Linked DNA regions of Homo sapiens: all the other regions are linked to region 3. Evidence: promoter capture Hi-C in human tissues and cell types (Jung and others, 2019). All regions are on one chromosome and are shown on one strand. The core of a region is centred on a gene start or on the middle of the fragment in contact, and the rest is flanking DNA. Distances in the headings are between cores, read along the strand shown. Region 1 overlaps GPC6 (glypican 6). Region 2 overlaps GPC5 (glypican 5). Region 3 holds the start of GPC6 (glypican 6). Region 4 overlaps GPC6 (glypican 6). Region 5 overlaps GPC5 (glypican 5). Region 6 overlaps GPC6 (glypican 6). Region 7 overlaps GPC6 (glypican 6).

The links. Contacts are between HindIII fragments. The study calls those that stand out against the background at their distance.
Region 1: a fragment that was not itself captured here is called in contact with the fragment with the promoter of GPC6 in region 3 in 1 of the 25 tissues and cell types used here (mesenchymal stem cells).
Region 2: a contact is called between a fragment that was not itself captured here and the fragment with the promoter of GPC6 in region 3, in 1 of the 25 tissues and cell types used here (dorsolateral prefrontal cortex).
Region 4: a contact is called between a fragment that was not itself captured here and the fragment with the promoter of GPC6 in region 3, in 1 of the 25 tissues and cell types used here (liver).
Region 5: a fragment that was not itself captured here is called in contact with the fragment with the promoter of GPC6 in region 3 in 2 of the 25 tissues and cell types used here (hippocampus and mesenchymal stem cells).
Region 6: a fragment that was not itself captured here is called in contact with the fragment with the promoter of GPC6 in region 3 in 2 of the 25 tissues and cell types used here (IMR-90 fibroblasts and dorsolateral prefrontal cortex).
Region 7: a contact is called between a fragment that was not itself captured here and the fragment with the promoter of GPC6 in region 3, in 1 of the 25 tissues and cell types used here (mesenchymal stem cells).

Annotation. Positions count from the first base shown.
Region 1 is chr13:93,865,740-93,868,971 of GRCh38, forward strand. All of the region lies in intron 3 of GPC6 (glypican 6), which reads left to right. Among named protein-coding and RNA genes, the nearest start is that of GPC6-AS2, 8.9 kb to the left of the region's middle. The HindIII fragment of the contact is 5,943 bases long and covers 1-3,232 here.
Region 2 is chr13:92,564,198-92,567,809 of GRCh38, forward strand. The region is part of intron 7 of GPC5 (glypican 5); the gene reads left to right. Among named protein-coding and RNA genes, the nearest start is that of MIR548AS, 76 kb to the left of the region's middle. The HindIII fragment of the contact is 6,248 bases long and covers 1-3,612 here.
Region 3 is chr13:93,225,513-93,228,901 of GRCh38, forward strand. GPC6 (glypican 6) reads left to right here and starts at 1,295. Exons shown (of 9, transcript NM_005708.5): 1 at 1,295-2,104. The coding sequence starts at 1,945. RefSeq lists an enhancer at 1,888-2,730 and a silencer at 2,784-3,078. The HindIII fragment of the contact is 15,285 bases long and covers 1-3,389 here.
Region 4 is chr13:93,951,648-93,954,933 of GRCh38, forward strand. All of the region lies in intron 3 of GPC6 (glypican 6), which reads left to right. Among named protein-coding and RNA genes, the nearest start is that of GPC6-AS2, 95 kb to the left of the region's middle. The HindIII fragment of the contact is 8,481 bases long and covers 1-3,286 here.
Region 5 is chr13:92,587,087-92,590,817 of GRCh38, forward strand. All of the region lies in intron 7 of GPC5 (glypican 5), which reads left to right. Among named protein-coding and RNA genes, the nearest start is that of MIR548AS, 99 kb to the left of the region's middle. The HindIII fragment of the contact is 4,822 bases long and covers 1-3,731 here.
Region 6 is chr13:94,039,869-94,043,624 of GRCh38, forward strand. All of the region lies in intron 4 of GPC6 (glypican 6), which reads left to right. Among named protein-coding and RNA genes, the nearest start is that of GPC6-AS1, 150 kb to the right of the region's middle. The HindIII fragment of the contact is 5,247 bases long and covers 1-3,756 here.
Region 7 is chr13:94,113,640-94,116,922 of GRCh38, forward strand. All of the region lies in intron 4 of GPC6 (glypican 6), which reads left to right. Among named protein-coding and RNA genes, the nearest start is that of GPC6-AS1, 73 kb to the right of the region's middle. The HindIII fragment of the contact is 4,299 bases long and covers 1-3,283 here.

The DNA.
Region 1 (3,232 bases), core at 557-3,056, 640 kb after region 3:
ATGGGAAAGAGAGCTAATTCAAAGGCAGGAGTCCATTAATTTTAGAAATTTAAGGCAAAAGAAGAACTGATGGATAATTTTGGAAAATTGTCCTGTCCTCTGCTTACTGTTACCATAATACCTTCAACTCCTGGTGACTGGATTGAGATATTATTTTAGGTCAATTTAGATGGGTGGGATTCTCTGAGGTCACATGATTTGAATCAAACCAAAAGTCATAGACCAAAATTGGTTAAGTGCCATGCAGAAATAGAGGGCATGAGTCAAAGCTTAAGGGTACCGATGAGCAGAGGCGGAGTCCTTGAAGCCAGAATCAATGGCCTGATGTGTCCAAAACCAAAGAGTGGTGGACTCTGCAAGTTTTGAAAAGCAGGTAAGTGGTGGGATGATTCACTGTAGCATTCTTCTGAAAAGCAAGTGCCTATATGCCTTTTTGAAAGTAATGTTATTTACAGCCAACAACTAGAGACAACCCAACTATCCCTCAGTAGGAGACTGTGTAAACAATTGTAGTGTAGCCATACAAAGGAATACTACTGAACAGGAAAAAGGAACACAAAACCGATTCATGAATTGACATGGATGAATCTCAGAGATATACAGAGCTGTAGGGTCCAGAAACATGTATCTTTATAATAGAATGTTTTATATTCCTTTTAGTATATACCCAGTAATGGGCGTATGTTCACCACAACGCCGTTCGCAATAGCAAAGACATGGAATCAACCTAAATTCCCATCAGTGATAGACTGAAAAAAGAAAACATGGTACATATATACCATGGAATACTGTGCAGCCATAAAAAAGAACAAGATCATTTCATTTGCAGGGACATGGATGGAGCTGGAGGCCATTGTCTTTAGCAAACTAACACAGGAACAGAAAACCAAATAGTGCATGTTCTCACTTATAAGTGGAAGCTAAATGATGAGAACACATGGACACACAGAAGGGAACAACACACAATGGGGACTTTTGGAGTGTGAAGAGTGGGAGTAGGGAGAAAATCAGGAAAAATAATTAATGGGTACCAGGCTAAATACCTGGGTGATGCAATAATCTGTATCACAAACCCCCATTACGTATGTTTACTATGTAACAAACCTGCACATGTACCCCTGAACCTAAAAGTTTTTCTAAAAATTGTTAGTCAAAAAATAAACATTTCTAAAAATATATAATGTAAATAATTTTTAGCAAAAATTAAAGTTCAGAAACAAAGGAACATCTTCTGTCTTATTCCTTTACTTGAAATGCAAAACCAAAGTTTAGCCTAGCAGAAAACACCTCAGTGCTTGTCCAGGGTTAGTGGTTGGGGTAGGAGATGACTGAAATGTATATCTCAGTATGTTGATTTTTTTTTAAGTGAGGCTATTTCCAAAAATTTCATTTACATGGAATAGTTCCAGGATATCCCCAATTCATGAAACAAGGTTGCTTATATTATGGTGAAATGTCTTTGGACAACAGTGTTATGTGTTACAGTTTGTTCTAGAAAACTCTTTGTAGAAAACTTGGAACATTTTACAGTTGGTTTAATAAACTCTGTTTGTTCCTTTGACGTCTCTCTAACATTGAGGTAGGGCATGACAGCCTGTGTGTGAACTGAGAAGTCTGCAGACTGGAGTTGGACGTTGGACTTTGCCATTCTTTAGCTATGGGATGTTGGACAAGCTACTGAACATCTTCAAACCTTACTTTCCTTATCTCTAAAATAGGGTTATTAATAAAGCCTTCTGCATAATTCATTGAAAAGAGTAAATTAGAATGATTATAAAGCCCTCAGAACCATGTGTGTCCTGTAATAAGCTCTCAAGAAAGGCTAGTCATTCCATTTGTATAAACTCTTCTCGGAAACCCTTGTCAACATGCCCCAAATGGATGGAATCAACACTCCATCTATTACAGCCTTGACCGCTGACATCACTGGTAACCTATTTGCTTCTCCTGCTCCACTGTGAGCTTTTCAAGATGATTAACTCTGAGTCCTTTTCATCTCTCTATTCCTGGTACCTAGCACCACAACTTTTAGTGTACACTCACCATCAGTGCAGGAACTTCATTCTTGAAGCTTAAATCATCAACATTTCTTTCAGTCTCACGCTTTTCTTCAGAATGAGCTGCAAGAGAATCCATGTCTTGTTGTGGGACCCAGGTCCAAAGCCTGTATGGACCTGAAGAATTACACAAGGGCAGCAGGAGTTACACAGAGACGAGGTAACATATTTTTACATCTCTCCTCTTCACATTAGAAACATGAAAACCAGAGTGAAGTCCCTGAGGTTACTCGGGAGAATGCCTTGGTAAACCTTCCATGGATTTTCTGCAGAGTAGGATCAAGTGAAGAATGTTTCCACACTTGAGGGAGACTTCACACATGCTAAAAGTTTGATGCATAATATTTTTGGGTTAGACCACAATGCTTCTTCCCATGGTGCCCGCTTGTCATATTCATAAACATGGACTTCATTTACTAGCTTTTGTTCTCTGCCAAACCTCATCTCATGCTTTTTCAGTAATGTTAGCTAGGTTGTCTGCACACTTGAATATTTAGGATAAGACCCTCAATCCTAATAGCCTATATTATAAGTGTTAACATTTCTGTCTATATAGTTATATCTCCTTATGCTTCTTTTATTAAGTTAATAATAATTCAATTAATGATTGTAATGATAGATACAGAATAAAATTATAAAATAATAAGTTAATAATTTTGCTTACAGCATTGCTTAACTTAAGTGTACAATTTCACACAGAAATTTTTGATAGCATGTTCCTCTCCTCACGAGTGATATTTTAACTTTGGATATTTATGGAGAAAAGGAAGGAGTTAACTGGGATACAGGATTTATGTAAAGGTCTCTCTTTCCCTCTCTTTCACTGCCAAAAGGACAAAGAAATCCCTAGGCAAATATCTGGTACTACATAGAAGTATTTGTCTCACCAAGTTGTTGCTGAAGGGCACTTTTCATACTATTAATATTATTTGAGAGACGAGCAGACACACCAAACCAAACATAATCCAAGACAAAGAAAATGGATTGATGTCAGATTTTAACCTGACTGAACCCTCTTTCGAGTATATCTAAGTGATATCTCCTCTGGCCAACAACAACATTAAATGCAAATATTTCTCTCTATTCCCTTTCCCTTTTCCACAACCCACAAATACTGTTGGCTGCAAGTAGGAGGAGAGAAGTTCGGAACTGCTTCTATTCTTTATGTAGTGCTC
Region 2 (3,612 bases), core at 174-2,673, 660 kb before region 3:
TCACTTAGTAAGTAATAATTTCCATTTCTGCAGGTAAATGGGACCCAAAGCACCCTATTCTTCCCTGTGTCAATAGGTTTTGCATGGATCCATCTGTGAAACAAGAGATTCTAAGTAATCAGTGTCCTAGATAATGAAATTATACAATTGGAGTTTTTCTATTGCTTTATTCACTAACCTAATGAAGATTGAGGTATTAAAGAGAGTTGTCCATGTGTTTTGTGTTGATGTTTTAATGCAATATAGCTAGCCCCATTGTTATTATTTTTGTGTCTATTTTTCCTGCTTCATTTTATTTTTTGGTGTTTAATTAATTATTTTATAATTTCATTTTTTATTTTAAATTCAGGGGATACATATACAGGTTTTTTACGTGGGTATATTGTAGGACATTGAAGTTTGGGATACAAATGTTACCGTCACCCAGGTAGTGAGCAGAGTACCCAATGGGTAGTTTTTCAGTCCTTTTTCCCCTTCTTCTCTCCTCCCTCTAGCAGACCCCACTGTCTATTGTTCCCATCTTTATGGTCATGTGTACTTAAGGCTTAGCTCACATCGGCAGGTAAGAACATGTGGAATTTGTTTTTCTGTTCCTGCATTAATTTGCTTAGGATAATGGCCTCCAGCTAACACCATTATTTTGAGGCTAATTTACTTCAGATCGAGTTGGTTTAAATCCAAATAAAAGATGTTATTCTTTCTTTATCCTAATCAGAAAATTTTAGGAAATAATCAGATAAACTTTACAATTGGCAAATCAAAGGCAGAACTGCATTAAACACCCAGATGTAAAAGGTGTGACACCTCTTCTACTCTTCTTGTATTCACTTTTAGGCAAGAAAACAGGACTCTTCTGGAAGGTAAAAATGCACTCATTTCCCTTTTAAGACTCATAAGCCATTCTGGAGTCCACTAATACCTAAAGTATTTGTCAATTAAGCATAATTTTGTCTGAAATAGCAAGCTTTAAAGAATACGTAAATATTTTAAAGGAAAATAGATTTTGAAGAAATCAACACATTTTTACATAAGTTTTCCAAAATGGGTTATATATTATTCCACTGAAGGAAAAAGAAACGAACATTTATTGAGTGATTATACTGCTCCAGGCACTTTCACCTTGGTTTTTTTATTTCTTTTCTTAAAGATTAGTTTTATAAGTTCTATCTTTTTAAATAAAGGAACTGAATCTAAGTGATTAAGATCTCCGTCCAGAGTCATGCAAATAAAAACCTGCCAACCTCACTTCAAGGCCATAGTTCCTCCCCTTGGATGACGTTGTCTCACATATAGCTTTTTTTCACTGCTACAAAGTGTTGTGAGCAAGGGTTCTTAGTGCTTTGCAGTTACAATTAAAATTAAAATAAAGAGTTAATAACTTTCAGTAAAGTTGCCCTATCTCTCAAACTAAGACCACAAGTTTTTTCCACTAAGGAAGAAACTTGGTTAGAGCACAGAGTTGTAAAATAATCATAAAAATATGTATCTACATTTTATTTCAATTAAATATGTAGAAATTTACATTCATTTGCCACACTTACAACTAAAGCAAGTGACTTTTTGTTTTTTAGAAGGGGCCTATTGATTGAAGTTTCACCTTATTTTTTGTTTTATATAAAGATGATACATTTTTCTTTCAAGTTTTTTTAAAAAGATTTTTTAAAGCAAAATGAGTCCACATTTTTACCCTTCTATTTAGAATGTGTCTCTCCTTCCTAATTTGACGTGAACTTTTTAGTGATCAACCTTTAGTAGATATTACAATGTATTCAGTATTGTTTATGAAGTCAAATTTATTTTTGTCAACAGTCATTTTAATAATTATATAATTACAGTATAAAATACAAACTGGTGAGGAAATAACTATAACTCAACTAATGGGATCAGAGGTCTTCTTGACTTTAGAACATATTATCATTTAATCTTGATAATCTGTTAGAGGCCATGGAAAGGTGCATGTCTCAGACCCCTAAAGGTCCTATACACTATTGAAATACTGATTTTCCAGGTAGAATTTAATAACAGTTCAGCAGGAAGATGATCCTATGCTCAGAAATTGTTGAATAGCTATCAATTTAGAAATCAGCACCTGTCATCTTCTCATGAGTAAAAATCAAAATGTTTGGAGATATACAGAACTTGATTTAAGAGAATATTGTTTCCAATATTTCAAATTACATTTTAATATCTTTAAAGCTAAATGAATCACATGAAGACAAGGAGATTGAATAGAAGAATATGGAAAATAAGCTGATGCAGTCAATTCATTACATCACAGCCCACAGGCTTTCAGGGCCCCAAGGGAGTTGAAAGTTTCAAAAGTATTGATCGTGGCCCTTGAAGAGGCTAATGGATTTTAAGTCAGTCCAGCCATTAGCAAATAAATGCAGTTGTCCTCAAACACATTTTAGCTTTTTCTTGATTTTCATGATAATCTGGCTCTAGTGTTATGGTTTGGTCTTCTGCAGTAACAGGGTAAATAACAAATCCATCAATGCTCCAGTGTGTTCTATGTCCTCACCCAGAATGTAAGAATTTATTCTTCAGTTGTATTGATGCATTTTGATCCCACCTTCCAATTCCCAATCAGAGAGGCCAAACTACAAGAGCTAAATAGCATAATGCCAAAAAATGTAAATAATAATATTAAAGAGATTACCAAATTTGTCAAACTTATTCTATTTAATTCTGAATTTAGGTTTTTTGCTTTTTTGCTATTATTGACCTAGAGGATGATTATAATAAATATTTGATGACACATTGAAATTCTTCATGATTGACCTTTAAGGTCTGGTATATTAGCAAAACTTTCAGGGAGTCTTTGATGCCATCTACAAAGACAGCTGGCATAGAAGTTGATAAAGACTTGATACTTGGCTGCTTCTTGTTTGAAAGGATGAGGAAGTCTTTACCCACATCAGGTATTCACACAAAATGGACAGTTATTTCCTTAAAGGCCATGTTCCCAGTGCTAAAAATTTCCCGAGGCCAAAATTTCCCAAAGATTTGATGATACATAAAATACTTTTGGCATTGTCTGCTTCAACTTGTGCACAGAAAACCCATCATCTTTACCCTGTTCTTCAGCATTTGTAGGCAAAGGGGAATTTATCACTTTTATCACATAATTGATACTGTAATGACCCAGTTCGACACAAAATTTCACAGGCTGATAATATGATTGCTGGCTGTGGTGAACAGAATAATGCCTCCTCCCCAAAGATGTCCATATTCTAATCCAAGAAACCATGAATGTGTTCAGTTACATGATCAAGTGGAATTAAGGTTAAAAATGGCATGAATGCTGTGAATCAACTGATGTTAGAATGGGAGATTATCCTGGATTAATCGAATGGGCTTAATGTAACCAAAAGGGGCATTAAAAGTCAAAGAGTAAAAAGTCAGTATCATACTGATGAGATGTGTGAAATACAGGACTCTCAGATACTAGAGGAAGGGGCCCAGCAGCCAAGGAATGGGGGCAGCCTCTAGAAGCTAAAAAGACAAGAACATGGGGAATTTTCCTTTGGCGCTTCCAGGGGAAACACAGCACTGTTGGTGTTTTGATTTTAGTCCAGTGAGACTTGTGTTGGCCTCGTGACCTACAGAGCT
Region 3 (3,389 bases), core at 45-2,544:
TTTTTTTTTTGGTTTTGTTTTGTCTTGACCTATGAGTTTGAAGAAGACAAAGTGGCTCTGTAAATAAGTCGACTTCATTTTTAAAGCGTTTGGAAAGGTTAAATGAGGTTGAATCTTGAGAGTCTTTTTGGTGGTTAGGAGAGGGGGAATTTATTAAAGAGAGGAAGACAATGTACCTAATATGTTGTGATGATAATGACAAACTCAAAGATTTAAACTTCATGAGTCATTCTGGTCATTCATATCATCATCAGGAAAACATCTTCATGTGTAGCTTCATAGGTGAGCTCCACAAAACTGTGCATTACCTTGTAGTAGTTTGTGAATAATGTGCTGACCTATGACACATAGCCACGTAAGTGAATAAACACTATTATTATTATTATTTTGTCTTGGTTTTCATTAAACTATCTTAGTAGTTTCAGGAGCTCTGGGTTTCAACACACACTTCTGCCAGCTGACTTTAGTGCGTCCATTAGCATAACAAAGTCAATTAGGCAAACCTGAATTTTCACTTTTATCCCGTTCACAGAACATCAGTGTAAATGGAGACAGGAAGAAGAAATTGGATTGATTCTCCACTTGAGAATTATGTTAACTTGGAAGAAAATGTTAAGTCTACTATGTGAGGGCATCTAGTGAGAGGGAAGGAATCACCTCCCTTCCCCCATTATGTCCCTTTATGCACCTCTGACCCTTGTGCTCTCCTTTTCTTGTTGCTTCTGTGGTCTGGTTGTTAGCTTTCCCGATCCTCCACACATTAGAAACCTAAGCATAATGATTTCTGATCGAAGGCTATGAGATATTTGAAATAAAAAAAGGGGAAATTGTTGAGTCTAGAACCAAACCTTTAAAAATTAAGAACTACCAGTCTGTAATGTGTGCCTTTAGAAAAAAACAAAGTCAAACAGAAATTAGGCAACTAGTTAGAGCCGTGATTGTGCTCTGCCACCCATGAACTCCCGTCTATGACTATTTCCACTCTGGCTTTGTGTTTCAGTAGGTCAGGGACACATATTAAGAGCAACAATTGGAACTGCGTTATCCTTTACCTCCATAAAAATACAGCTTAATAACATGTTAATGACTTAAAATTACCTTGTCTTTCTAGATTGTTTATTGATGTCATTTCAGATCGGTATAAAGGATGTGAAGTGAATAAGAAAATAGGTACGTTTCTTTTTCTTTTTTTCCCCTTTCTACCGACTAGGAAGAGATCCAGTCCAGGTTTTGCCTTTGACTCGGCCTGTGAATTTCGGCTGTGCAATGTGTAGCACGTTTCTTTCTCCCCCCTCCTTTCTCCTTCCCTCTTGCCTCCAGTGACTGTCTCCAGGATTTCTCTCTTCCTATTTCAGGAGGACTCTCACAGGCTCCCACAGCCTGTGTTAAGCTGAGGTTTCCCCTAGATCTCGTATATCCCCAACACATACCTCCACGCACACACATCCCCAAGAACCTCGAGCTCACACCAACAGACACACGCGCGCATACACACTCGCTCTCGCTTGTCCATCTCCCTCCCGGGGGAGCCGGCGCGCGCTCCCACCTTTGCCGCACACTCCGGCGAGCCGAGCCCGCAGCGCTCCAGGATTCTGCGGCTCGGAACTCGGATTGCAGCTCTGAACCCCCATGGTGGTTTTTTAAACACTTCTTTTCCTTCTCTTCCTCGTTTTGATTGCACCGTTTCCATCTGGGGGCTAGAGGAGCAAGGCAGCAGCCTTCCCAGCCAGCCCTTGTTGGCTTGCCATCGTCCATCTGGCTTATAAAAGTTTGCTGAGCGCAGTCCAGAGGGCTGCGCTGCTCGTCCCCTCGGCTGGCAGAAGGGGGTGACGCTGGGCAGCGGCGAGGAGCGCGCCGCTGCCTCTGGCGGGCTTTCGGCTTGAGGGGCAAGGTGAAGAGCGCACCGGCCGTGGGGTTTACCGAGCTGGATTTGTATGTTGCACCATGCCTTCTTGGATCGGGGCTGTGATTCTTCCCCTCTTGGGGCTGCTGCTCTCCCTCCCCGCCGGGGCGGATGTGAAGGCTCGGAGCTGCGGAGAGGTCCGCCAGGCGTACGGTGCCAAGGGATTCAGCCTGGCGGACATCCCCTACCAGGAGATCGCAGGTAAGCGCGGGCGCGCTGCAGGGGCAGGCTGCAGCCCTCGGCTGCCGCACGTCCCACTGGCCGCCCGGCGTCCCCTTCCTTCCCCCTGTTGCTGAGTTGGTGCTCACTTTCTGCCACCGCTATGGGACTCCGCGTCTCCGTGTTGGGCGGCGGATGCTCCTGCGGCTTCTTCGGCGGGGGAAGGTGTGCGTCTCCGCCGCCTCATTGTGTGCACACGCGGGAGCACCCTGGCTCCCGCCTCCCGCTGCTCTCGCGCCCTTCTACCCCTTAGTTGATGGCTCAGGCCCGGCTGGCCAGGGAGCCCGGGTCACTCCGGGGCGGCTGCAAGGCGCAGACGGAGAGCCGAGCCGGGCGCTCACTCCGCGTTCTGGTTCGGGCAAACTTGGAAGAACTGCGACCGCAGTTTGCCCAGCGCCACAGTCTGAGTGGCGCCTTCTCCACTCCCGCCCTTGCGCCGGCAGGGGCGGTGGAGAGACGCGGAGGGCTCCCCCAGCCCCTCTCTCCCCTATCCGTCCTTCGGGCGACAGAGCGCCCGGCGCTCGGGCCGGGGGCGGGCAAGGCTGGGAGGGACCCTCGCCGGGGACCTGGCCTCTGGACGCCGGCGTTTCAAGGCTGGTTTGGGGACTTCACGGGCTGCCTGTTTCAGATGTGGGGCGGGCTTTCCCGTTAGGGTTCCTCAGTGCTTCCCCAGTTGCTGTTGGCCACTCAGGGCCCGGGGACACCCTGCCACCCGGTCTGGAGCCGGCCTCGTCTGCCAGCGAACAGCCAACTTTAGCGGGTGGCTCAGCTGGGGATTCGGGTCCGGGTTCGGGGGCCCCGTGTCCCCCGCATGCCCGGCCACTGGCATTGCTCCACCAAGAGCTTGAGAGCGCCCACCCTTTCTCTCGGCGCCAGTGTGTGTAGCACTTGGTCTCCGACAACTTGCGCGGCAGTCTGGGTGCTTGTTTTCCGGCTCTTAGCTCCAACCGAATCCGAGCTTCTCTGGGGCTCTGTGAATGAAACGTGTCGGGGAGAGATAATCCTTTGGCTGCTAAAGAACAGAACTGAGAGAGGCCGAGGGAGGCCAGGAGATGCTGCGAGGGCGCGGGCTGCTCAAACCGGGCAGCTGAAGTCCTTAGTGACCTCAGATCGTCAAGTCAAAACGCTGAATTTCCACCAGCCTCTGTCTGCTTTTTGCCAAATAACTGGTGGATGGATGAAAAGCATTTTGCAGATATCTTAGAACATCACAGTTTCGATACGTTGAGGAATTACTATTTTCTTATGATTTTCAAGCTGTAGAAGT
Region 4 (3,286 bases), core at 246-2,745, 730 kb after region 3:
TCAGCCTCAGTTTCTTCATCCGTATAGTAATGGTTATAATAATTATGACAAAAAGAAGGAAGTCAGGTGATTAACGTTAGGTAATAATCTCTCTAATAGGAACTGATAGCAGCAGCAAAAATAGACATAAGCAAAATCTTGAATTTTTTTTATAAGAGAACTTTCACCAGAGAAATAACATCCAGGAAGATTCCTGGAGATCATTAGAAGCAAAGGATGAAACAGTGGACATGTTTCATAGGCATTCTTCAACCTAAAATAAATGGGTTGTGTTTTAAAGGTTTGTTTCTGAGCCGATTGCCTTAGAGCTCAGAAATACATTCTTTCATACAAACAACATGCTAGTTGATGGCTCTGTTCTTAGCACAGCCTACAAAGTGTAGGTACCTTAGAATATGCACTAAATAAAGAATTAATAGTACCATTTCAGTTATCATACCAACATTTTTCTATAGGGCAGTGTGTTCTGTGTTCATAATTTAAACTTCTAGGAACACAGGAAACATCTGGAGGAAGGAAGTTAGAGAAGAAAATTTGGCAATCAAACAGATCCAGAAGATAGAACTTATTGAAATCAGGTAACAAAATGAAAATTAAATCTAAAACTAGGCTTTTATACCCATTTTCAAGATGATAATCAAAATTAACCAAAAATCTCAAAAATGAATCTTTAGGGAACATATTACGTGGGAAAGAACTGTATGAATATTACTGTTAAATAGAACTAAATTAAAATCCTGAGTTGATATGTAGAATTCCAGAATTGTGAAAAATGTATATAACTTCTTGAGTTTTAATTTCCTTATATGAACATGGAACAATAATACTGGAAATAGTTGCCAAGAAGAATTATAATGCCCTAGGTTATTAGGAATGTCTTTCTTGTATCATTTATCTTTTATTTTTGAACTCCAGCATTAGCTTGCATTCAAACACTTATATGTGATGTATACATTTATGTATATATGTATGTATGTGTCTGTATATATGTATGTGTCTGTATATATGTATGTATATGTATGTGTGTATAAATAGTATATATAGTATGTGTGTGAGAGTATATATATTCACCTGTATGTGTGTATATGTGTGTGTGTATGTGCGTGTGACGTGTGTGTGTGAGATGTGGGTGTGTATATATGTGTATTGAGATATAGGTATACACACACACACATATATATACGTATATATCACACATATATATACGTATATATATGTATATATATACATATATATATGTGTGATATATACGTGTATATATGTATATATATACACGTATATATATAGTCCTTGAAACCGTTTGGCTCAAAACACCTCTATTATTTAGTTTTTTTCTTTCTACAGAATTCTCAAACTTTCCATATATTTTTCTTAAGCTGCTTCTTGCTCCCCTTCTCATCTTGCCCATGCTTAGATGCTGTCAGATCATTCATTTTGCTACAGTTTCCATTCATTTTGTTGCCTTCACTCTGTCTGTGCCACCTTCCCTCGTGGTTTTTGATTCTCAGAACTTTTGCTGAGGTGTCTTCACTTTTCTTTTCTTCCATGGTCTCCCTAAAACCCATCTACCACTGTGATTGTTTTTCTACTTCTATTGAACATTCTCACTTTAAGGTTTTATGGAGCATTTAAACTCCTTCTTTGTATGTTCCCCTTTTGACTCTTCATATTGTCATCTTTATCATCCTGAATGGTTGCCTCCTACTTTCCCCTTCAGACTGGGGTTTTCAGTCCATCTTTGGTGGAATATTTGGTCTCCACTTATTTCATTTTTATTCATTATTGTCCTGGTTCTTTGTGTAGAATTGCCTCTCCATAAATAAGCCCTGTTTCTCCTTTTGTAGAACAGTTTATTTTTCTGTATTTGTTTCTCCACATCTTGTTCATTCTAGCAACTTTCTTTTTACTCATTTGACTTTTCTTCCAACATTTGAAATCAAACATCAATTTATTTTATAAGTATTTCTTTTGAATTGTCATGCAACATTCTAAACTCAAATCATAAAGTCAGAGAATTTTAGAGGTAGATAGAACCATAAGTATCACCTTGGCCAGACCGTATGTATTACCAAAAAGGAAAGTAACTGGAAAACATCTTCTCAATGCCCAGCTCTTAAGTGTTATCTTCCCCTTGCACTCCAGTGAAACTTTAGGTTGAGTCATATTCTGTATTGATTATCAGTTCCACCTGTATAATATTGTTTTTCTTCTATTCAAAAATGGACTGATATAGCATATATGGTTATCTTTAATTGCAGTAAATTACACATCACATAAAATTCACTGTTTTAAAGTGTACAATTCACTGACATCTGGTGCCTTTATCATGTTGAGCAACCATCACTATTGTCTAATTCCAGAACATTTTTATCATCCCAAAAGAAAGCTCTTTGCCCAAGAAGTCACTCCCTAGTCCTCCCTCACCCCTACCTCCTGGAAACCGCCATTCTGCTTTCTGTCTCTAAGCATGACCTATTCTAGATCTTTCTTCTAAATGGAATCATGTAATATGTGGCCTATTTTATCTGGCTTCTTTCAACACATATAGTTTTATAATCTGCTATTTACAACTTGCTATGTATGGTTATATAATCTGAAAACATAGCAAAAGTGTATATATATTATAAAAGTTTTGAAAAATATTCTTCTGCATACACAGTGCCTTTATTTTTATTTATTTTTATTTTTGACAAGGTCTCATCTGTTATGCAGGCTGGAGTGTAGTGGCACAATCTTAGCTCCATGCAACCTCTGTCTTCCAGGCTCAAGCGATCCTCCTGACTCAGCCTCTTGAGTAGCTGAGAGTAAATTAGTGTGCACCACCACAACTAGCTATTTTTTGTAGAGACAGGTTTCACCATGTGGCCCAGGCTCACAATGCCTTTTTATATTCCCAAGTTTTACATGCTTTGTTTTTACCCATGCTAGTACTGTGACCTTTTTCCTACAACTCAAACAACTTTCCTGATGTTGAGTTTAATTCATAGAGCACACAGAGAAGCATGTCCCAGTTGTCCTGTGGAACACTTGCATGCCTGTCACAGACCTGCCTGGGAAGCTCCCAGCAGACACTCAGTCCCACTTGACAAAGATTCTTCATTCATTCTGGTTTTTGTCCTGCAGTCTCTAAGTAAATATAAGATGTAGACTGATATGAAGCTCTCCAAAACTCCTCACTTACCCCAGGTTTAGTAACTCTATGTATGTCCACAACCAAAGGCCATCTCCTTTAATATCCACCACCTTCTAGCATAGTGGGAACAAAGAGACTTGTCACACTTATGTT
Region 5 (3,731 bases), core at 476-2,975, 640 kb before region 3:
TAGTAAATACATATGGTTTGAGAAGATAACTGTTATTGTACTCCTAAGTAAAATGTTGACCATCATATCTTGTATTAAAAAAATGGAAGAAAAATTCTATTTTCCCTGTTTTCCTTCAGTAGTATGAATTGGCATTCTATATAAAGAACTAAAATATAAAGAAAGTTAATAACTACTTACATTTGTAAATCTACAAAATTATAAATGATAACACATATTATGTTTTAATTTATCCTTACAAAGCTCTGGAGGTACATGGGAATTAGTATTCTTTCATTTTAATATGCAATGAAAATTCATGGAATTATGTGACTCTCTCAAGGTTTACAAGTAAATGTCATAGCCAGGACTTGAACCTTAATCGTCTGTCTCCAAAGTGAGGATGGTTTTTATTATACCACCCCATTGTCTAACAGGCAATATTTTGTTAAAACAGAATTAAAAAGAAAAAGGGAAAAATCTTATTGTACATTATTTATGGTACTCCTGCAGAAGAATATTTGAGAGAATGGCTATGTAAGGAAAAGAGCATATCGTCTAGTCTCAATAAAAATTTAATGTTTAAAATTATTGAGCCTATGATTTGCTAACAAAAGAAAAATAAAAATATAGATACAGCCTTTCCATCACCATTCCAGCCAGTAATTCTGATCCCTGTAAATGCTCAGCTTCCTGGGCATTCACTCCTGGAGGCAGCCATGCTCTCAAACCCCGTCTCCACCCTCCAGAGTGGTGTTACATATTCTCTGTGGTTAGGTGTAATATGCTGGTTGGAATTACTGGGTATAGATCAGGTTTTTTGGGGTTTTTTTTTTGAAAGGCCTATTCTTTTTTTTGTTACTTTAAGTTCTGGGATACATGTGCTGAACATGCAGGTTTTTTACATAGGTATACATGTGCCATGGTGGTTTGCTGCACCTATCAACCCATCATCTGGGTTTTAAGCCCCACATGCATTAGGTATTTGTCCTAATGCTCTCCCTCCCCTTTCCCTCCAGCCCCCAACAGGCCCTGGTGTGTGATGTTCCCCTCCCTGTGTGCATGTGTTCTCATTGTTCAACTCCCACTTATGAATGAGAACATGCGGTGTTTGGTTTTTTGTTCCTGTGTTAGTTTACTAAGGATGATGGTTTCCAGCTTCATCCATGTCTCTGCAAAGGACATGAACTCATTCTTTTTTATGGCTGCATAGTATTCCATGGTGTAAATGTACCACATTTCCTTTATCCAGTCTATCATTGATGGGATACCCAAAGGATTCTAAATCATTCTACTATAAAGAAAATGCACATGTTTATTGCAGCCTTAACACTGCGTGTGTTGCTCTCTGAAACAGACACTTGAGTCATCTACACTGCTACCCACTGTTTTGTTTCCTTGTTGAGTTTATTTATTGAGCACTTTCCATTTGTGAAGATCTGCTTTAGATAAGCCCTTTTGAATAGCTCTCCCTATCCAGATAGCTATGAGCTTGTTGTTCAGCAGGTTTTCTCATCATATAATAACACTGTTAGTCTCTTTCTAGGCATGTGCCCTGGCCCTGTCCTTTCTATGTGTCTGTTCTAATTCAGCAGTACAAGTCATATGAAATATAGAACTATGTAGTAGGACTCCATAAGACAACTTAGAGAGTATGTTTATTGCACCACTATCTACAATAGCATGTTTTTTATAATTATCTGAAAATTGTCCCGGTCCCTGATAGAGGAGGTATTAGTTCCATACAGTTGGCATCCTGGGTCATACAGCAAATAAAAATACTGCTTTGATCTGTAAAGCAATTTTTGCTTGGATTTCTAATTTTATGTAGAAGTCATTTTATGTAGAAGTCTCATCCTAACCAAGGTGTATAGAAATCTCTCACTAACATTGGGAGAAAATGTGCAAGTAATGAGAGGCTTCAGGTAAAGTTGAGGGGGGTGCTTTCCAGAGTTATGTCTCAAGGGAAGAAAAACATGTGGCAGTTTCTTTGTATCTGTACTAGAGGAACCATTCTTCAACTCAGTGAAGTAAATGTTTCTTGACTTTGGTTACCAAATGCGTTCATGGTAGGTCCTAGTAAATTAGCACTAACGATGTTCTGTTCCCATGAAGCTGTTTGCAGCCTTGAGTAACACTAGAAAGATTTCCATCTACCGGCTGTACCAAAACTTGGAGGAGGACTAGAGAATATTCCTTTTCTCCTGTTCTTTCAAATGAGAAGATTGAGTTGAAACCTTGAGAGTCATGAGTTCAGTGCAGCAAGGAAGCATCATGCATTTACTCATAGTGCTGCGATTTTCTACTGTTGTTTTTCATCCCTGAGGCTAGAGACAATATTCTCTAATTCACAAAGGTCCATTTTATTCCCCAGCTTTATTCCCCAAAATTGGATCCTGCCCCATTATGCCCAACATTTCTGATCAAATCATGATTTCTTTTATTTTAAAATCATAAAAAATGTTTTATTCTTCCTAAACATCATAAAATTGTTAGTGAGCAGAAGAATAATTCATGAGATTTTATGATCATGGCATTGTGTTATTCTCCAACCCAAATAGTTACTTTTCTAAATATTGCTTTGCCAAATTCCATAAACAGTTTCATTGTCACAACAAATAAGGTAATCAGGTCTGTGGTGACCCAATCAAGTTATTTTACTTGTATAAAATTAGTTAAACTAGAGAGAAGTCCACATAGGATTCAGAGTTAGTATTTTGTATGCTAGAGAAATATGACATTCATCATTGTTTCACATGTGTAAAGTATAATCCTACTTACTTAAGTCAATCGAAATGATAATCACTGGTATTACAAAATATACATGTACTAAGAACCAAATTAACTAGTTCACTGCTTGTTGTTCGGGCTGTGTGGCCAAGGTTAAAAGGTTGATGAGTGCCACCCAGGGAAGAGATGAGTGCATAATTAGAGGTTGTTGGGAACAGACAACGTGCACACTAGGCAGTAGTGATGCAGTGTTTATAGCAAGAAGAGAGAGAGAATGCACAAGATCCAGCTCCTTGCAATACTTCAGGCCCCCATGGCCAGGGATCTATTCCCCAGCCAACATGAGGGGATGTCTTAACTGCACATAGCCCACTTCCTGCTGTAGTGAAAGTACCTCAACGCCTTTCCCTGCGGGGAATCTGAAATACAGAAAGCTAGGGGCATGCATGAGGGCCATGGAAGCATGCACTTAAGAACAAAGGAGGACACACCGAGAATGAAACATGGAAAGCTGTTCCTACACAAGGCAACAAGCCCAGAACAGGCTGTGTGAGGACAGTTTATCTATTGAAAAGGGAGTGTTCCACGCCCAAAACCCGTTCCTATGCAGCTAAGCTAGAATTGACAGACTGCGCACAGGAGACCTTTCCCAACATTAACTTTTCTGAACAAAACCTTCAAGGGGATGTCATTACTCTCTTCCTTTGTTTCTTCCCACTGCTTTTCTCATGGTGGTTTAATCTGCTATCAGAGCTGAGTCATGACAGTTGACACTTCACTCAAACATTCCTTCTGAATTCACTTTCTATTTTCTTTTGGATTACAAAATATCTGGAACCGAGGACTCCTCCGTCAATTCAAGTTTTATGATAAAGATCTCAGCCCACGTTGTTATTGCAGGTTCAACATTGTGTGTGTTGCTCTCCGAAACAGACACTTGAGTCGTCTACACTGCTACTCATTGTTTTGTTTCCTTGTTGAGTTTATTTATTGAGCACTTTCCATTTGTCAAGATCTGCTTT
Region 6 (3,756 bases), core at 580-3,079, 810 kb after region 3:
TACTCTCAGAATGAGCCTTTGTCTATATGCTCCAACCTCTTTAATTAAATGCAGCTAGAATGTTAACAGTGCAAATATGAGAATGCTTAACATAATGATTTAACGGCCATGCCTCAATCGCTCTCCAAAATATGTTTTTAGACTCAGAAACCCTTTAATAATTATATTTATCATACATATTGACATTTCATAATTGCAGTCAGTTCAAGAGGAAATTGATTTTCTATTGGTTATGACTTTTTGCAATTCTCATTGCACGAAATCTAGAATTACGTTCTTCTGGCCATTACCAAGTTCTAGATTTTAAGCTGAAGCATGAAAGTTGTTAATTTTACAAAAACCTTCCCCAAAAGGCATTCATTTCCTTCACTGGCAAGAATATCACAAAGCAGCCCCTTGCTTCATTGCATGTCCTGTGGCATGATTGTCACCAACGAAAACACAATATGTAAGGACCAAGGTAATTATTCATTGGTTTCTGGACATTAAGTCCCCCAAGGAACAACACAAATATACATGATGCAGCTTCTGCAATGAAACATTCGAGATACCAGTGACGTTTTTTGAATCCCAAATTGCCAAGTTACTGATTTAAGAATGCCCTAGAGTATAAATAATTTCCCCAAGCCTCCCTAGTGACTTGTGTCGAATGCCTTCTGCTTAGCCCATTAAAGGTGAAAGCCATGAAATATTATTTGATTTGTAACACAAGAAAATGCCCTAAAACCACCTATCCCTCTTTGGAAAGCTGCCAGAACAAAGTGAGAGGAAAGGTCAAGCCTGAGAACGATGATTTCAGGTTGCAGCATGTGGCCAGATGAAAGGCTGAGCCTATAGGCTGCATTCAGTCTTCCAGTTTCTTCATAGAGGATTTATATTTATTTTTCCTAACTCACATAGGAGTCTTGGGTTTTGAGATCAAAATTTCAAATACTTTAATAGTGGCCATGCAATATTAAAAAAATTTAACAATGAATTGTGTTGAATGGTTACTACGTGTCCTTACTACATTTCCTTTGAATTCGATTTGGAGAAGCTAGTTTCAGGATTCATTTGATTTACATGTGGAATTGATAGATATTAAAATCCATTTCTTCTAAGTGCCTCACAATTGAAAAACATTATTTTAATTCTGTTGTGCCATGCATTGATTCCTATCCATTTTGATCTGTGATCACTAGACATCAGATTGCTTGTGAATTGCCAGTGAAGGTATGAACATCACAAACCTGCTAAATCAACCTTTAAAATGTAAGAAAAGTTTAATTTAGAGTTACATCCGGACATTTATAAGATGCAGACATTGATAGCTTGGAAGCAAAATGATAAAGTATATGCCTCATTCTGCAAATCAGTTACAAGATGGAAGTCAAATTATTCCATCTGAAACCTCTTAATTCAGCAGAGGAATAGCCACTTGAGAGCTATGATGGCAGTTTATGGAAGTGTCTGTGATCCTTCTTGATAAATCTGTATCCATTTACACAGAGAAGTCATAGTAATCTGTACTAATTGAGAGAGCAAGGATACAAACATCAAATTATTGCCTTCTAGAAGGCATTAGGGGACTTATTTTTAAATTTAAGCTTGACTTTTTATTGGCTACCTATTATCTGCCAGGTAATACCACGTGTGATCTTTTTATGCTTCCAGAAATAAGAATGAGCTTTAATTAGTATGTCATTTTTGCTTAAAGCATTTCTCTGTTTAATTTAGAAATCTTAACATTCTCCTGAACATACACAATCTTTTCTGGACGATCACTTAAAATGAAACTTTTAGCCAAGCCTTTATCTGAATGAATAAAATTTCAAATTAGAAGATTCTTACTTACCAGGGGTTTAGTATATATGCATTAAACTTGACATATAAGCTTTATATCCCAGGGACTTTGGTAAAGAAGTAGCTTTACCAATTGTTATTCTTTATTCTCGATCTTCCTAAAGTCAAATTATTTTTTAGCATTTGTTTCAAAATGATTTTCAACTTACAAAAAAGTTGCAAAAGTAGTACAAAATTTACATATACCTATCACTCACCTTATTCTAATGTTAACAACATACATACGTAACCATATGATATGGTTTGGATTTGTGTCCCCACCCAAATCTCATGTTCAATTATAATCCCCAGTGTTGAAGGTGGGGCCTGGTTGGAGATGATTGGATCATGTTGACAGTTTCTCATGAATGGTTTAACACCATCACCGTTGCTACTGTCGTCATGATAGTGAGTGAATGAGTGAGTGAGTTATCCTGAGATTTGGTTGTTTAAAAGTATGTGGCACCTCCCCCTTCCCTCTCTTCCTCCTACTCTAGCCATGTAAAATATGCCTGCTTTCCCTTTGCCTTCCACCATGATTGTAAGTTTCCTGAGGCCTCCCCAGAAGCAGAAGCCACCATACTTCCTGTACACCCTGCAGAACTGTGAGCCGATTAAACCTCATTTCTTTATGAATTATGGTATTTCTTTATAGCAATGTAAGAACTTCCTAATACACCATACTACAACAATAAGACCAAGAAATTGATATAATACTATTAACTAAATTACATACCTCATTTTAATATCACTAGTTTATCCCCTATCTTTTTCATGTGTCAGAATCCAATCCAGGATTCCATGTGCCTGTAGATGTCATGTCTCCTTAGTCTTCTCCAATCTGTGACACTTTCTCCACTTTCCTTATCTCTTATGACCTTGACACTATTGATAAACACTGATCAGTTACTTTTGTAGAATATTTCTCGATTTGGGTTCTTCTGATATTTTCTAGTGTCTGCTGGTATTTTTCACTGTAGAGTTACTGTATTTTATCCCATTATTGGTGATATGTTTTTTAGGGAAAGTATTTGAAGTCTATGCTAATATCCTGTTTCTCCTCAACCTTTCACCTCTGATATTAGCATCCATCAAAGGATTTTGCCTGTAGCAGCTATTACTGTAGTATTTGCATACTGGTGATTTTATATTTCCTTTTTTCCCTCTTTATATATTAATTGGAATTCTTCCCCCGAAAAAGTGGATCTTTTTTCTCTCCCAACTTCTTATCTGTTTAGTTATGTATTTATATCGGTATGAGCTCATGGTCATTCGTTATATTCTATGGGTATAATCCAATAATGTCATTATTTATTTTGTTGCTCAAATTGTTCCAGGTTTGTACATTGGGAGCTCCTTACTTTTGGGTCCTATATCCTTCTGACATGGTCCCCATCATTTTTGAAGCAATTTCTCATTTTTACCATTACAAGATATACCAGGATCATTTTGTATTTTTCCTGCATCAGTCCTAAAACCTACCTGTTCTCCGGGGAGCACTAGTTCCTTTATTGGAGAATGGTATTAGAAACCAAGGTCTGGGCACTAGACGTGCTCGATGCTACTGGAGGGTCATTGCTATGAAGCCCTGTCTCCAAAATACACTAGGAAATATGTGTATGTATACTACTTCATACATACTGACAATTTATATTTATTATTTATTTATCAAATTTATGACTAACATTGATTTTGAAGATTTTCAACTTACAAAAAAGTTTCAAAAATAGTACCAAATTTACACATACCTATCATTCACCTGATCCTAATGTTAACAACATACATACATAATCATACTACAATAATAAAACCAGGAAATTAACATTGCTATAATACTATTAACTAAACTATATACTTCATTTTGTGTGTATATTTTGTGTGTATATGTATATGTATATATCTGTCTGTGAGTTCATACTGATGCCAGCTGAACAC
Region 7 (3,283 bases), core at 344-2,843, 890 kb after region 3:
TGTTAGGGAAAATATTCAAATCCAGCCAACTAGGAAGTGATTTCTTGTTTGTGAGGTATTTAGACCGTGCTAGGTGGCCTTTATTAAACAGTGACTATAGGCCGGGCATAGTATCTCACGCCTGCAATCCCAGCACTTTGGGAGCCTGAGGTGAGAGGATCACTTGAAGACAGGAGTTCTTGACCAGCCTGGCCAACATTGTGAAACCCTGTCTCTACTAAAAAATACAAAAAGTAGCCAGATGTGGTGGCACATGTCTGTAGTCCCAGCTACTTGGAAGGCTGAGGCACGAGAATCACTTGAACCTGGGAGACAGAGGTTGCAGTGAGATCTCGCCACTGCACTCCAGCCTGAGTGACAGAACAAGACTCTGTCTAAAAAAAAAAAAAAAAAAAAGCCCAGTGACTATTACCCATTCACCCATTCATAGAACTAAGGTTTTTACCTTAGCTTTATCAAAAAAAAAAAAAAAAAAAAAAAAAAAAGCAAGATGGTGTTCTTATTCCCATTTTCTAAATTAAAAAAAAAATTCTAAGAAAGGTAAAGTGACCAGCCAAATGGCACACACCTAAATTTTGGTTCTGGGATTAAATCTACATGTGTAGTCTTCTCTCTCAAAAATGGAATGTTTCTTGTCTTTGGAAACTCCAAGGACAAAAAGATGTCTTAAAGAGATTGGGAAAGATTTGCTTGAGGAAGGATCATATGGCCTTGGCTTTGAAGAATAGATCTAATTTGGTCAGACTGGTAGGAGAAAGGCTCATTGTAAGGAAGCAGGCGGGGGTATATTCAACAGGAAACAGTTTTCCTTGGCTGAGCTGCAGAGATGACCATTAGAAAGTGGGAAAGGCAGACTGAACCTAAATCATTAGGCATGATCTATTAGGCTGGGAAGTTTGGTTCTGTCTAAAAAATACAGAATTTTATCTTGTAGGATAGGTTAGGATAGTGGGTGGGGTTGGGAGTAAATTTATTCCTCAGGTGTACGTATAGAAGTTTAAGCTATGACATACAATGACTAACCAGCTATATTACCATTGAAGCTTACATATTCCTATCTGGTTTCAAATTTTACACAACCAAGGTGAAAAAGATAAGACCAAGAACCAAAATAATCAGAAGAGAAAATATTAAAAATGATAGTTACTGAGGTCTTGTTAGAAGCCAAGCTTAATGCTTTCCATGTATTGTCTCAAGTAATCTTCATAATAATTCTAAATGGTAGTACTGTTTTTTTTTCCATTTTGCAGGTTTAGAAAACGAGACATAAAAGTAAGATGGCTGACTCAGAGTCAAAAAGCTAGTTCATGGCCACCGGCCATGAGAATCAGTGTGTGTCTGATTCTCAACCATTAAACTCTATTGTCTCCAATAAGTAAATGGTTAAATGTGTGATAAGAGCCAACTAGTTTAAACTCAAGGCAGTGTTGGGAATATTTTATCTGATTTCAACTGAGAAAATAGAAAGTGTACAAGTGCTCTCCAAGGAAACCAGGCCATAGGTTTATAGAATGAAATCATAACTTTGAAGGATGTACTTCATCCTCTCCAAGTACTTAGGCAGATAGACCTGTACATTTTAATACAGTCATGTGGCTGCAAATGTCCTCCAGGGGGCCATTTAGCTATCTCCTTTTTGCACCTAAAGGTTTTGTAAAGATTTGAAACGCACTGGTAATGAGGTTTATGTCAGAGGCAAGGGGTTGGTGGGGGGGTGTCAAAGCTTTAGTATTATGTAGGTTCAACTGTTACAAGGGAGATGGTCCCAGCTGAATTTTTTAAGCAAGGGGAAATAAATCTCTTCAAACAAAGGGACTGCTTTTTCTTTCATTCAACCTGATTTCTCTGCCTCTGGGCTAGTCTTTCATTTTACGTAGTCACAGAGAACAGACTCATTGACCCTTCCTCAGGTCCCAAACCAGCTAGTCATGACCAGAATTTGGTGATCTGTAATCCAGGTAGAAGAGATGTGAGGATTTTGTTTACGTGTACACTGGTAGCTCATAGAAACCTGTGTATTCTAAAGGAGAAATTCCTGGCCCAGTAACTGGAATTCCTAAGTTCTCAACACAAACCTACGAACATTTCTATGTGGATGCTTGATGAAGGATATTTATACCATTTCTACTTTCTTAAACTGTAAAAATTAGACATTTTAGCTTTATACAGTTTGTGTAGTCCTATTTATAAATCACATTATAGTAAATAAGAATATTTTTTCAGTTTACAAAAATAGCTTAATATTTATAGAAGTCCTACGGTGATTCTTTTCACTCTCTGAATTAGTTAATTTTACGTATCAAGATTTCTTAATGAGGGGCCTGTATTGCCCCATACCTATTTCATAGAAATATTGTAAGGACTCAAGGTTTAGAAACCCCTAATTTTCTGAGATTGATATGAAAATATAGGATAATTATAAATAATAAGTATCAGCATTAAGTGCTTTAGTAATTTAGTTATAATTTAGTAATTTAGTTATAAATTAGACATTTTAACAAATTGTGTTTACTGGGGAGAGAAGACAAATAGTTAACTAAATAGTTCCTGGATGCTGGGAACTTCATGTATCTTAACTCCTTTAATCTATACAGCACCCCCATTTACCATATCAGTGCACATGAATGAAATGCCTACTACATTCTGGAAGTTGCGCTTGATATTGGTGTTACGGTGGTGAACGAGACAGATACAGCCTCCAAACTCAGAAAGCTAAAGAACCAGAGAAAATTAAAAGAAGTCCCAATTGTCATATGTAAAGGTGCACAAAGGGTTGGAAGGGGACAGGGGACCTTACATATTAACATTTCATTCTGAGCCCCTGAACACATTGAGCTTAGAATTCACATGCATAAAAGGTGGGCAGGCTTTTATGGTTAATAAATATGACCATGTATGGCTGTCCAAAGCCCTTGGTTTCTTTCCTGTCATATTATCCTGCCTCCTTACAATAATTGATCATTTCCCAGAAGATAACTTTCCATTTTAAGCATTGAAACAAGTATGCCTTGAATAAGCAAGTGTTCACATTAGCGCTTACGTTTGTATTCTACGATGGAGAATGAACTCATGGTCTTTCCTATTTCCATCTTCCCTGATGATGATTCTGTGGCTACAGTTGCCTAGACACTGCCTTCAAGGATATTTGAGTGAAGATGACAGCAATTAAAAGGAGTAATGGTTTTCAAAAGCAGTTGTTCTAACAAGCTGCTGCCCAGGTTAGGTGAGCATGTTAACATCAACTTCTTTGTCAACCTTCAAGGCACTGTCATAATGAGTTGAT